Linked DNA regions of Homo sapiens: regions 1 and 3 are each linked to region 2. The links are contacts of gene promoters, found by promoter capture Hi-C in human tissues and cell types (Jung and others, 2019). All regions are on one chromosome and are shown on one strand. Each heading gives the region's core, a stretch centred on a gene start or on the middle of the fragment in contact. The rest is flanking DNA. Distances are from core to core; before and after follow the strand shown. Region 1 overlaps PKD1L3 (polycystin 1 like 3, transient receptor potential channel interacting). Region 2 holds the start of DHODH (dihydroorotate dehydrogenase (quinone)). Region 3 overlaps PKD1L3 (polycystin 1 like 3, transient receptor potential channel interacting).

Region 1 (4,455 bases), core at 1,482-3,981, 53 kb before region 2:
TCAACAATTAAAATAATCGCAAAGTCATTCCTCTCCTAGGTTTAACTATTTACTGAGGAAGTTAACTACGTTTATCTAGAGATAAAATTATCCTGGCAGTAAAGACCATGTTGTGTTCCTAATACTGCTTCATTTGTTAATGAATGAGAACACTGAGAAAATTTGTTAGAGTATTCTAACGTTAGGGCAGTGGAAGAAAAATGAAGGCACAATGTATTAGTCTGTTTTCACACTGCTATAAAGAACTATCTGAGACTGGGTAATTTATAAAGAAAAGTTCTTCATGGCTGGGGAGGCCTCAGGAAACTCACTGTCATGGCAGGAGGTGAAGAGGAAGCAAGAAACCTTACATGGCATTACAAAGCATTACAAAGCACTACAAAGCACCTTACCTGGCATTAACACTTTACATGCCTTACAAAGCAAAGCATCTTACATGGTGGCAGAAGAGTGACAGGGGAACTGCCACACACTTTTTTTTAATCCCCGAGACGGGGTTTTGCTGTCACCCAGGCTGGAGTGCAGTGGTGCAATCTCGGCTCACTGCAACCTCCGCCTCCTGGGTTTAAGCAATTCAACCATCAGATCTCATGAGAACTCACTATCATGGGAAAAGCATGGGAGAAACTGCCCCCATGATCCAGTCACCTCCCAGCAAGTCCTCCCCCCGCCCCAACACAGGGGGATTACAGTTGGACGTGAGATTTGGGTGGGGACACAGAGCCAAACCATATCACACCACATGATTCTGTTTCTTTCTAATCCTGAAAGTAAGGGTAGTGGAGTTTAGTTAAAGTATTGCATAGTAGGCTGGGCATGGTGACTCGTGCCTGTAATCCTAGCACTTCAGGAGGCTGAGGCAGGAGGATCACTTGAGGCCAGGAGTTCTAGACCAGCCTGGGTAACAGAGCAAGACCCTGTCTCAAAAAAAAAAAAGGATTGCTTACTACAAACAACACACATCAGGGCTCATCCATACTTTGCTCATCTCTCTTGGCAGTGGTGCTGTTTATCTTCCAGAACATAACATTGATGACCATGTTGCAGAGTAGCAGTGTCATGCAGCAAGACAGCCGTTGGACCCTTGTAAACTGGTTCCAGGGATGCCGAGTTGCAATTGAAAGCCACAGATAATCCTGGGTGAACTTTTCCACAATCATGGAGGAAAACAGATGTCTGAAAAGAGAAATCAGAAGAGGAAATACATGAGATTTTATTCTGAAAGTGCACCAGTTTAAGATGTGATTTGCCCAGCAACAAGCGACATAGCAACTCCCAAGCCTCTATTCAACACCTCTGTGAATAAGCTTTCAGATATTTTAATTCTTTTTTTATTTTAAATTCTTTTACCATCACCCGAATGTGTCCATGTAAGATTCTTTTGTTGTTTTAGGATAAAAGGTTGTTGAGGATAATTTATATGCTATGCGAGTTTAAAATTAAAAATGGTTGTTTTAGCTTTATAAGAGTTTTGATGAATTTTTTACTCTTCAAAAGTTTACATTAAACTTCTGCTCAAAATAGTTTGGTAAATTCATACTCTGAGCACTTTCTCTACTCCAAATATGGAGGAACTATAAATAATATATAAAAAGAAAGAACCAAAAAGACTTTGCTGGGCTTAAACACAAAATAAACCTTTTCTGAGGAAGAGAAGCAGAATGAGAAAACAAGGTGGTCAGAGTGAGGTAGAAGCCACAGGATTACTGAGCTCCAGACCTGGAGGAAGGTAGTACAAAAGTGGGAGTTTGACTTTTGTACAGTAACTGAAACTAAAAATGATTCACTGGGTGCAGAAAAGGGAGGGACAAAGCCAACTTCATTGCTAGAAGCCAGTGTTGAGCCTGGAGCTCATGAAAGGATACTTGAGAACAAAAAAACCTCTGTAGGGCTACACATTTATAGTAAGGAGGTGAGAAAAAAAGGACAGCTTCATGACCAGGAACTAAGTCAAGAGATCCAAGGCTCATGACAAGATCTGCAATACTCCTAGTTCCATTAATTTCATTGAAAAATAGGAGCTCCAAGGTCCCATATAATAAGGCCCAGTTCTAGACTGGAGATGTGAAGGGTTGGAATGAAAACAGTAGCAAAACCAGTCACGGGTGGTGTTTGTGGTGGAAGGGGTGGAAGGGATGGTATGTGTGTGTGTGTGGAGGTGCAGTGGCAGGGAGAGGAGTGGGAGGGAGAGGGAAAGTAATAATCCAGCCCAAAAGAAATTAATTTAATGGGACCCAGGAGGCAGAGGTTGCAGTGAGCTGAGATCGCACCACTGCACTCCAGCCTGGGCTACAGAGAGACTCCATCTAAAAAACAAACAAAAAAAGGGGTGTATATAAACACACACACATAACAGAATATCATTTAGTTTTTTGTTTTTGAGACAGGGTCTTGCTGCGTCACCCAGGTTGGAGTGGAGTGCAGTGGTGAGATCTCAGCTCATTGCAACCTCCATCCCCCTGGCTCAAGTGATCCTCCCACCTCAGTGGTGTGCAGGTGCACACCACTACACCTAATAGGGCTTAGCTGTATCCCCACCCAAATCTCATCTTGAATTGTAGTTTCCACAATCCTCTCCTCTGTCATGGGAGGAACCAGGTGGAGATAACTGAATCATGGGGTCAGTTTCCCCCATCCTGTTCTTGTGATCGTGAGCGAGTTCTCACAAGACCTGATGGTTTTATAAGGTGCTCCCCACTTCACTGGGCACTCATTCTCCTTGCTGCCATGTGAAGAAGGATGTGTTTGCTTCCCCTTCTGCCATGATTGTAAGTCTCCTGAGGCCTCCCAAGCCATGCTTAACTGTGAGTCAATTAAACGTCTTTCCTTTACAAATTACCCAGTCTTAGGTACGTCTCCATAGCAGCATGAGAATAGACTAAATATAACACCTGGCTAAATTTTGTATTTTTTGTAGAGATGGAGTTTTACCATGTTGCCCAGGCTGGTCTCGAACTCCTGAGCTCAAGTGATCCACTTGTCTCAGCCTCCCAAAGCGCTGGGATTCCAGGTGTGAGCCACTGCACCTGGCCCATCATTTAGCTTTAAAAAGGAAGGAATTTTTTTTTTTTTTTTTTTTTTTTGTGAGATGGAGTTTCACTCTTGTCACCTAGGATGGAGTGCAATGGCCTGATCTTGGCTCACTGCAACCTTCACCTCCCAAGTTCAAGCAATCCTTCTGTGTCAGCCTCCCAAGTAGCTGGGATTACAGGCAACCACAGCCATGCCTGGCTAATTTTTGTATTTTTAGTAGAGATGGAGTTTCACCATGTTGGCCAAGCTATCTCAAACTCCGGACCTCTGGTGATCCACCCGACCCGGCCTCCCAAAGTGCTGAGATTACAGGTGTGAGCCACCGCACCCGGCCCAAAAAGGAAGGAAATTCTTGCACATGCTACAGCATGAATGAACCTTGAGGACATTGTGATAAATGAAATAAGCCAGTCACCGACAGACAAATACTGTATGGTTCTGCTTACATGAGGAATGTGAAGTAATGAAATTTATAGAAATAGAAAGAATAGTTGCCAAGGGTTGGAAGGGGGAGGGAACAGGAAGTTGTTCAATGGGTGTAGAGTTTCAGTTTTGCAAAGTGAAAAAGCTCTGGAGCTCTGTTGCACAGCAGTATCAATATATATACTACTACTGCACTACACACTTAAAAATGGTGAAGATGGTAAATGTTATGTGTTTTTACCGTAATTTTAAAAGTTGTAAAAACAGTGTAAACATACACATAAATAAATATATAGATTGCAACTCTTCTGCCTTAAAAAATAACTACATGCAGCAGTGATTAAGAATCTATATGATGGACACACAATGCATGAAGATGTAATTTGTATGACAACAATAGCACAAAAGAGTGGGAAAGGAACTGAGCTACAGGAGTGAAGTTTTTGTATACTATTGAAATTAAGTTGATAGTAATCCAGCTAGGTTTTCATAAATTAGAATTTTAATTATAATCCCCAGGGGAGGCATAAAGAAAATAATTTAAAAATATATAGTAAAAGATACGACAAAAGAATACGGTAGACTAGAAAATATCCATTTAACACAGAGAAGGCAGTGATGTCCTCTGGGAGATTCTATGCCAGTAGGTGTGGGTAACTGTTGAACCCCATTTGTGATGGTGATTAAAAAAAAGGCAGTGATAAAGAAACAGAGGAACAAAAAAGATACAATACGTATAGAAAACAAATAGCAAAATGGCAGATATAAACCTTACCTTATTAGTAATTATATCAAATGTAAATAGGTTAAACTCACAAATTAAAAGATAGAGATTGGCAGAATGGACCAAAAAAATGCCTAATCCAACTGTATTCTGTCTACAAGAGACATAATTTAGATATGAAGACACAAATGAATTGAAATTAAAAGGATGGGCCAGTAGTGGTAGCTCACACCTGTAATCCCAGCACTTTGGGAGGAGAAGGTGGGAGGATCATT
Region 2 (3,981 bases), core at 743-3,242:
CCGTTTCAAGCATTTTTAAATGAAACCTGATGTTGATGAAATCTCTGAAAGTCAAGTCAGGTATCTTACACAATGCTGTAATTTCATTTCAATCCTTTTCATAAAGGGTAAAGTCCTTGTATATATTCTTTCAATACATGCTTTATCTAAGACACAAGCACTCTATCAATAAAAGTTTTAATTTAAACGACCAAAAAATTGGTGAGAGAGTGCTCAGAACTGAGGATAAACATGTAAGTAGTTTTTTGTCCCAGATGAGCAATGATTTATGTTGACTAAGGTGTGCTGAATTAACTTATTCCATTAAAGTGTAAAGGGAAGACAGGTTGATAAGCATAACTTTTACCTTGATAAATGTTTTCAATGATTTCTATTGCATGTAGACTGAAACACCTAGCATGTAAATTATTGCAGTAGAATCTGTCTCTAAGTCTCAGCTGGGTCTGTGAATTTGTTCTAATTTGATAGCTTCATACAACTGATGAAGCTCAAAAATGGCTTGACTCAAGATATTTCATACACCTTTCTTTTGCTCTAATTTCTGCTACGACAATAACCCAGCTATTTCAGCTGATGGCGGGAACACTGCAACTGGACAAAAATGACACGGATGGGTGTAGAGCCTCCAAACAATAAGTATCTGATTAATGCTGTTGACACCTAAGTCTACAGAGGCTATTCTCCAACGGCCAGGACATCATTAGGTAAGACATTTCAAAATTCTTCGTGAGGGCACGATTGCTTCAGAGGACTACAAAGTGACACATTAGGTCGTCATAAATCACCGCAGTACCATCCTGGCTAACACGGTGAAACCCCGTCTCTAAAATACAAAACAATGAGCCGGGCATGGTTGCGGGCGCCTGTAGTCCCAGCTACTCGGGAGGCTGACGCAGGAGAATGGCGTGAACCCGGGAGGCGGAGCTTGTAGTGAGCCGAGATCGCGCCACTGCACTGCAGCCTGGGCAACAGAGCAAGACTCTGTCAAAAAAAAAAAAAAAAAAAAAAAAAAATCACCGCAGTAAACCACACTCCAACGGGCCTGCACACTCAGGGTCTTGATTAGAAACAGTATTTAAAAAAATACCTCCACATCTGTTGCACCACAATGCCAAGGTATAACCAGGGCCACTTTCTCCAGGAGGCACAACAGGCGCAGGGCCAGGGAAGGGCCTCTGACACTTTTAGGATCTCAAGAAATTTTTTTTTTTTGGTTATTTTTCTTTGTTTGTTTTTGAGACAGAGTCTTGCTTTGTCGCCCAGGCTGGAGTGCAGTGGTGCTATCTCGGCTCACTGCAACCTCCACCTTCTGGGTTCAAGCGATTCTCCTGCCTCAGCCTCCCGAGTACCTGGGATTACAGGCGCCTGCCACTACGCCCGGCTAATTTTTGTATTTTATTTTATTTTTTAGTAGACACGGGGTTTTGGGTGTTGACCAGGTCTCGAACTCCTGACCTCAAGTGATCTGCCTGCCTCAGCCTCCCAAAGTGCTGGGACTACAGGCGTGAGCCACCATGCCCGGCCTCAAGAAAATGTTTTAATTTCCTTAAAAAACCTTAAGAAAAATCAACTTTTAAGTTGAAAAAGTTTATATATTAACATATTCATCTTTATATCAACACAGCAGTAAAATTTATTTTTTAAAGTGATAAAAACTGTACAAATATTTCTGGTGTGAAACACAGTGTTTTGATGCTCGCGGACTCTTGGATTCGAGGCTGCGGTAGTACGGACAAACACCGTGCAGCGGCATCTCATCTCCGCCAACAGCCGGCGATCAAGCGGGCAGGCTGGGAGAGGGCGGGCGGAAGAGGCGTGGCCGCCGCTACTGCGCACGTGCACCCAACCAGAACCTGGGGGTGGTGCCGGGCCTTCCCCGCTGCGCGGAGGCGTCCTCTCAACCCTTCTGCCCGGCGACTGGTGGGTTGGCGGCTAAGGGGCGGAGACAAGAGGGGCCGCCACCATCTCCTCCAATGGAAGGGAGACAGGGGCGGGCTTAATGACGGAAGGAGCATGGCGTGGAGACACCTGAAAGTGAGTCCCGCGAGTGAGCAGTGTGGATGGGGGACCAGGGACCGGGGAGGGCGAGAACGGAGAGTCAGGCCGGGCGAGGCATGGACCGAAGGCGGCTCCGGGAGTGTGGGCCCCCCTGGGACGTGTGCGTGTTTCCGGGGTCTCCTGCAAATGCTCGTGCGTGTGCATTTGCACGTGGACTCGGTCAGGCGTGTGCAGACAGCGCCTGCAGGTCTGGGTGGGTGCTGATCTGAGTGTCTGCGCCTGGGCCATGTTTTTGAGCCTGGCACAGGGGTGCTTAGTGAACACATGACCGCCTAGCGTTGTGTGCCGGATCCAACGGGGAATGAAACTAGAGTAGGACATGCTCCCAACCCTTTTAGGTAAAGTTTTGTTAGGGGCGGGGGTCTCTGTGAAAAGTTCTTAGCTGTATCCCCGTATGTAATAGGTGTTCAGAGGCCGGGCGCGGTGGCTCACGCCTGTAATCCCAGCACTTTGGGAGGCCGAGGCGGGTGGATCATGAGGTCAGGAGATCGAGACCATCCTGGCTAACAAGGTGAAACCCCGTCTCTACTAAAAATACAAAAAATTAGCCGGGCGCGGTGGCGGGCGCCTGTAGTCCCAGCTACTCGGGAGGCTGAGGCAGGAGAATGGCGTGAACCCGGGAAGCGGAGCTTGCAGTGAGCCGAGATTGCGCCACTGCAGTCCGCAGTCCGGCCTGGGCGACAGAGCGAGACTCCGTCTCAAAAAAAAAAAAAAAAAAAAAAAAAATAGGTGTTCAGATATTTGTTGATTGACATGGTGGGGGGGAGTACAGTCTCCAAGGGAGGCAATGAATAACCTTGACTTTCTTTTTATATGTTTATTTGAGACGGAGTCTTGGGCTGTCGCCCAGGCTGGAGTGCAGTGGCGCGATCTTGGCTCACTGCAACCTCCGCCTCCCGGGTTCAACCGATTTTCCTGCCTCGGCCTCCTGCGTAGCTGAGATTACAGGCGCGCGCCACCACGACTGGCTAATTTTGGTATTTTTAGTAGAGACTGCAGTTTCACCATGTTGGTCAGGCTGGTCTCGAACTCCTCACCTCGTGAGCCTCCCAAAGTGCTGGGATTACTGGCGTGAGCCACCGCGCTCGGCCTGAGTCTCTTTTTAAAATAAATAAATGGAGAGAGATGGGATCTCACTGTGTTGCCCAGGCTGGTCTAGAACTATTGGCCTCAAGGGATCTTCCCGCCTCAGCCTCCCAAAGTGGTGGGATTACAGGCGTGGGCTACCGCGCCCAGCCAATGAATACTTGATCTACATGTCTTTAGCAGTTTGGAAGGATCCTTAAAAGCAAATCTAATCATGTCATTTCCTGGCTTAGGGAACAAAACCCAAATCTTTATTTTGGCCAAGACTCCTGCTCCTTTCTCCTGCCTCGTCTTAAGCCTTACTTTCCCTCACTCCTCTGTTCCAAACTTTCTCCCTTTTTCATTCTCTTCTGCTACTGAGAGAGCCTTTACACTTTTTCCTCTCCGTACTGCCTTCTGGTTAACTATTTTTTTAAATAATTGAACCAGAATAGGTTCAGAGAGACCCCCATCAACTCGTTTATCCCTTGAGTATCAGCTTTAAGTCATTTCCTTAAGGAAGCCTTTCCTTACCTCTAAGATTAGGTTGAATACTTCCATTACCTTATACTTTTTATCCTTCATCACAGTTGCTATGACTACATATTTGCATGATCATTAATTTCTGTCTGTCGCTTCATAAGATCACACTCTCCATGAGGGTAGGGGCAAGATCTGTTTTGTCATCTTTGCTCAATCAGTATTTGATGAATGACTGAACTAATGAATGAATAACTCAGCATGTGGCAGTGATAGAGAAAAGCATTGTGAACCACTTTTGATCCAATAAGATCTGAAGCTTCTGTTTTATATTTTACACCCCCGTTACCTTGAAATGGAATATATGTATAATGTCTT
Region 3 (4,521 bases), core at 712-3,211, 35 kb before region 2:
TTCAGCGTGCTTCAAGGAGGTGGGAAATATCCGATGCCTTCTGCAATCAACTGGTCTGTGCTGTGAGAGGAGAAAAGCTCTCAAGCTTCTCTACTCAAAGTATGGTTTCCCTAACAAGCAGCACTGGGATCAGCTGGAAGCTTGTTAGAAAGGCCTGACCAGAGCTACTGCTTCAGAATCTACATTTTAACAAACTGATTATAGATTTGCTTGATAGCCATTGTCCAGCTATGACTGCCTGAGGCTATGAATGGTGCAGATGCCTTCCTAAGAATCCTCTCTCTGTCATGCCTGTAATTCCAGCACTTTGAGAGGCCAAGGCGGGCAGATCACCTGAGGTCGGGAGTTTGAGACCAGCCTGACCAACATGGAGAAACCCCATCTCTACTAAAAATACAGTAATTAGGCCGGGCACGGTGGCTCACACCTGTAATCCCAGCACTTTGGGAGGCCGAGGCAGGCGGATCACGAGGACAGGAGATCGAGACCATCCTGGCTAACACGGTGAAACCCTGTCTCTAATAAACATACACAAAATTAGCCGGGCGCAGTGGTGGGTGCCTGTAGTCCTAGCTACTTGGGAGGCTGAGGCAGGAGAATGGCATGAACCTGGGAGGCAGAGTTTGCAGTGAGCCAAGATCGCGCCACTGCACCCCAGCCTGGCCGATAGAGCAAGACTGGTCTCAAAAAAACACACAAAAAAACAAAAAAAAACAATAATTAGCTGGGTGTGGTGGTGCATGCCTGTAATCCCAGCTACTGGGGAGGCCGAGGCAGGAGAATCGCTTGAGCCCAGCGGGGCAGAGGTTGCGGTGAGCCGAGATCATGCCATTGCACTCCAGCCTGGGCAACAAGAGGGAAACTCCCTCTATAAGTAATCATCATCATCCTCCTCCTCCTCCTTCTGGCCTCCCAAAGTGCAGGAGGGAGGATTGCTTGAGCTCAGAAGTTCAAGACCAGCATAGGCACCATGGCGAGACCCTGTCTGTTCAAAAATCTAAAACATTAGCCAGGCATGGTGGCACATGCCTGTGGTCCTCATTACTTGAAAGTTTGAGGCAGGCGGATCTTTTGAGCCCAGGAGGTTGAGGCTGCAGTAAGCCGTGATCATGCCACTGCACTCCAGCCTGAGGGACAGAATGAGATCCCACCTCAAAAAAAAAAGAAAATTATCTTTCCTTCTCTTTCCAATCTAGATGGCACTTTCTCAGCTCTTTTTAGAACAGCTTGCTGATTTGCAAGACCTTACACCACATTCTTTGAGCAACCAAACCAGGACTTTCATCAGGCAGGATCTCACAGAATCACGAGTGTGCAAATATAATAGTGCTGGTTTAAAGCAGTTGGACACCAGGAACAAGGTGATAATTACAAAAGTGACAACCTGTCCTCACCTGGCCTGGAACGTAAAAGAATCTGAGAATGTATTTCTTGAGCTATGAAAGTTCTCCTTCGTTTAGCAAGAGGTTTCATTTTACCCACCCACAACATATTTAATACTTGTAGAATTTTATGGCTTCCACACGCTATTTTATCCACACTTGTCAGATCCACCCTGGACTGTGTTTGAGAAAGAAATCACAAAGATAAAGCACAAAGCTGCTCCTGCTTCGAAGAGGCACACTTGCCCTGCCCACCACACACAACCCTCCTCCCTCCTTTTGCCCAGGCAGAGTTATTTCAAACCACCTGATTATTTTTCTTTCTGGGCTGCCCCAAATGAGATAACGGATGCATTGGGCTTAACAGTAGCTATGGCAGAAGAGAGGCCCAAGAAGCGGCTCAGTTTCTTACTTGGCATCCGGCGCTGCTCCATGTCTGGTTGTGGATCTCCCAGTAGTAACACTGAGTGACGGCGGTGATGACCGAGACCAAGCTGGGTGTCTGCTGAGCACCCTCCTGCCTCTCACTCAGCACAGCTGTTATATAGTAGGTGCCAATCCCGTGCTGCAGATGCTCTGGATTCAGCACCCACGTGTACTCCTCATCTTAGAACAAAGAAGAGTGCTTACTTGTATATCAAATGGAACAAAAACACCAATGAACCTCTCTTCTAAAGGATCTATTATTAATATTTTACAAATGAGACCATGATGAAACTAGAGTCACAAATGATTTGAAAGAAAATGACCAGTGATACAACCCTGGGCTCTGGATTACTACTGTTCCAGTAAAGAACTACAGTCTTTTGGCCAGGTGTGGTGACTCACGCCTATAATCTCAGCACTTTGGGAAGCTGATGCGGGCGGATCACTTGAGGTCAGGAGTTCGAGACCAGCCTGGTGAACATGGTGAAACCCCATCTCTACTAAAAATACAAAAATTAGTGGGGTGTGGTGATGTGAGCCTGTAATCCCAGCTACTCAGGAGGCTGAGGCAGGAAAATTGCTTGAACTTGGGAGGTGGAAGTTGCAGTGAGCCGAAATCGCACCACTATACTCTAGCCTGGGCAACAGAGTGAGATTTTGTCTCAAAAAAAAAAAAAAATATATATATTCTTCTGGTATGTGAACATGTGAACATTTAGGTCTAATGATTTAGAATGTATTACGAGGTTTAGAAAAATGAAATGAGCACATATCTAAGTTAGCAGATAGAAGACTAAGGTAACAAACCCCAGGGTGAAGCAAACATAGAGATAGGGCAGCTTCAGGAACAAAGCCCAGGACTGCACGCTAGGGACCGGAGGTCGGGCCTGGCTCTGTCACCAGCTGGCTGGTAGGGGCTAAGGTGAGTCATCCAGTCTCTCTGGGCCTCAGCTTTCTCATCTTTCAAATAGTCCTGTCTCTCAAAAAAAGGTTCCTGAAGGCCCCTTCCGGCTCTGAATGACATATCATTGCCAAGATCACCAAGAAAAACTGAGTCCATGGCCAGGCGCAGTGGCTCAGGCCTATAATCCAAGCACTTTGGGAGGTTAAGGCAGGAGGATTATTTGAGCCCAGGAGTTTGAGACCTAGCTTGGCGAACATGGCAAAACCCTGTCTCTACTAAAAACACAAAAAATTAGCCAGGCATGGTGGCATATGCGCCTGCAGTCCCAGCTGCTTGGGAGGCTGAGGCATGAGAATCGCTTGAGCCCAGGAGGCGGAGGCTACAGTGAGTGGAGATCGCACCACTGCGCTCCACCCTGGGCGACACAGTGAGCCTGTCTCAAAACAGAAACAGAAACAAAACTGAGTACACCTTTGGAATTGGGAAAGGGCCCGTTGGTAATTTCCACAGATTCTGTAGTGGGCAGCCTGGTAGTGAGCATTGCTGCCTCGGGGACTTTGCCTAAAAGCAAGAACTTAGAAGTGATTGTTCCTGTGTGAGTGGTGCCCATGCGAGAGCCAGAGAAAGTTCTTTCCAGTATGGAAGGTGGTCATGACGGGAGACTGTAGCATGCTTTCTCCATTCAGATTTTTCCCAACGTAAAAATAAATACAGAAGTGTAGCTCTTATTAAGACTTTTCAGTACTATATTTAAAGTTGATACCCACAGAGCATGGTTTTGATCAAGTATATCTGGGCACTATTTATATATATCAGGAATTTTTATTTTTTAGAGACAGTGTCTTGCTCTGTCACCCAGGCTGGAGTGCAGTGGTATCATCGAAACTCATTGTGGCTTTGAACTCCTTGGCTCAAGCAATCCTCTTGCCTCAGCCTCCCAAGTAGTTAGGACTACAGGTGCACGCCACCACGCTCGGCTAATTTTTTTTTTTTTTTTGTGGAGACAGAGTCTCGCTCTGTTGCCCAGGCTAGTCTCAAATTCCTGGGCTTAAGTGATCCTCCTGCCTTGGCCTCTCAAAGTGCTGGCGTTACAGGGGTGAGCCACTACACCAGGCCAGACATTTTTAACTGTAATGTTATGTCTCAGAAATTCTTAACTTTTCTAAACTACAATACATTCATTCTGATTTTATACCAAGGCATACTGAGATATCATCAGGCCTTTCTTCCTCAAATCTAAGATTAGAAATAAAGTTGAAATACATAGGACATATTTCATATATAGTCATCTACAATATATAAATGTGAAGTATATTTAACTCATGGTGCTGTGAGCCTTACTTCTGCTGTGGGTCTCAACATGTTATTATGAAAATCTTCAACCATACAAAGAATTTTACAGGGAATAACCATATAACCATTAACTAGATTCTACAATTAACATCCTACTAAGTCTGCTTCCTTACATACATATCCTTATCCATCCTATAATCCATCTTTAAAAAAAAATGATTTTATGGTCACGTGTCTACACATGTGGTAAAATCACACAGGACTCAATACACACACATACAGAAATGTGCTTGTAAACCTGGTGAAATCGGAATAAAATCAGTGATTGTATTAATGTTATTTTCTGGTTGTGATATACTCTAGTTATGCAAGATACTACCATTCAGAGAAACTGGATGAGAGGTATACAAGCTGTTTCTGTTCTTTTTTTTTTTTTTGAGGCAGGGTCTGTCACCCAGGCTGGACAGCAGTGGCACAATCTCAGCTCACTGCAACCTCTGCCTCCTGGGTTCAAGT

Evidence for each region. Contacts are between HindIII fragments. The study calls those that stand out against the background at their distance.
Region 1: a fragment that was not itself captured here is called in contact with the fragment with the promoter of DHODH in region 2 in 2 of the 25 tissues and cell types used here (mesenchymal stem cells and spleen).
Region 3: a fragment that was not itself captured here is called in contact with the fragment with the promoter of DHODH in region 2 in 3 of the 25 tissues and cell types used here (mesenchymal stem cells, ovary and thymus).

The regions. Positions count from the first base shown.
Region 1 is chr16:71,953,126-71,957,580 of GRCh38, forward strand. It overlaps PKD1L3 (polycystin 1 like 3, transient receptor potential channel interacting), which reads right to left. Exons shown (of 30, transcript NM_181536.2): 17 at 980-1,176. Among named protein-coding and RNA genes, the nearest start is that of PKD1L3, 45 kb to the right of the region's middle. The HindIII fragment of the contact is 9,768 bases long and covers 1-4,455 here.
Region 2 is chr16:72,006,752-72,010,732 of GRCh38, forward strand. It overlaps DHODH (dihydroorotate dehydrogenase (quinone)), which reads left to right and starts at 1,993. Exons shown (of 9, transcript NM_001361.5): 1 at 1,993-2,034. The coding sequence starts at 2,014. RefSeq lists silencers at 1,745-1,844, 1,788-1,987. The HindIII fragment of the contact is 8,550 bases long and covers 1-3,981 here.
Region 3 is chr16:71,971,530-71,976,050 of GRCh38, forward strand. It overlaps PKD1L3 (polycystin 1 like 3, transient receptor potential channel interacting), which reads right to left. Exons shown (of 30, transcript NM_181536.2): 12 at 1,795-1,988. Among named protein-coding and RNA genes, the nearest start is that of PKD1L3, 27 kb to the right of the region's middle. The HindIII fragment of the contact is 8,318 bases long and covers 1-4,521 here.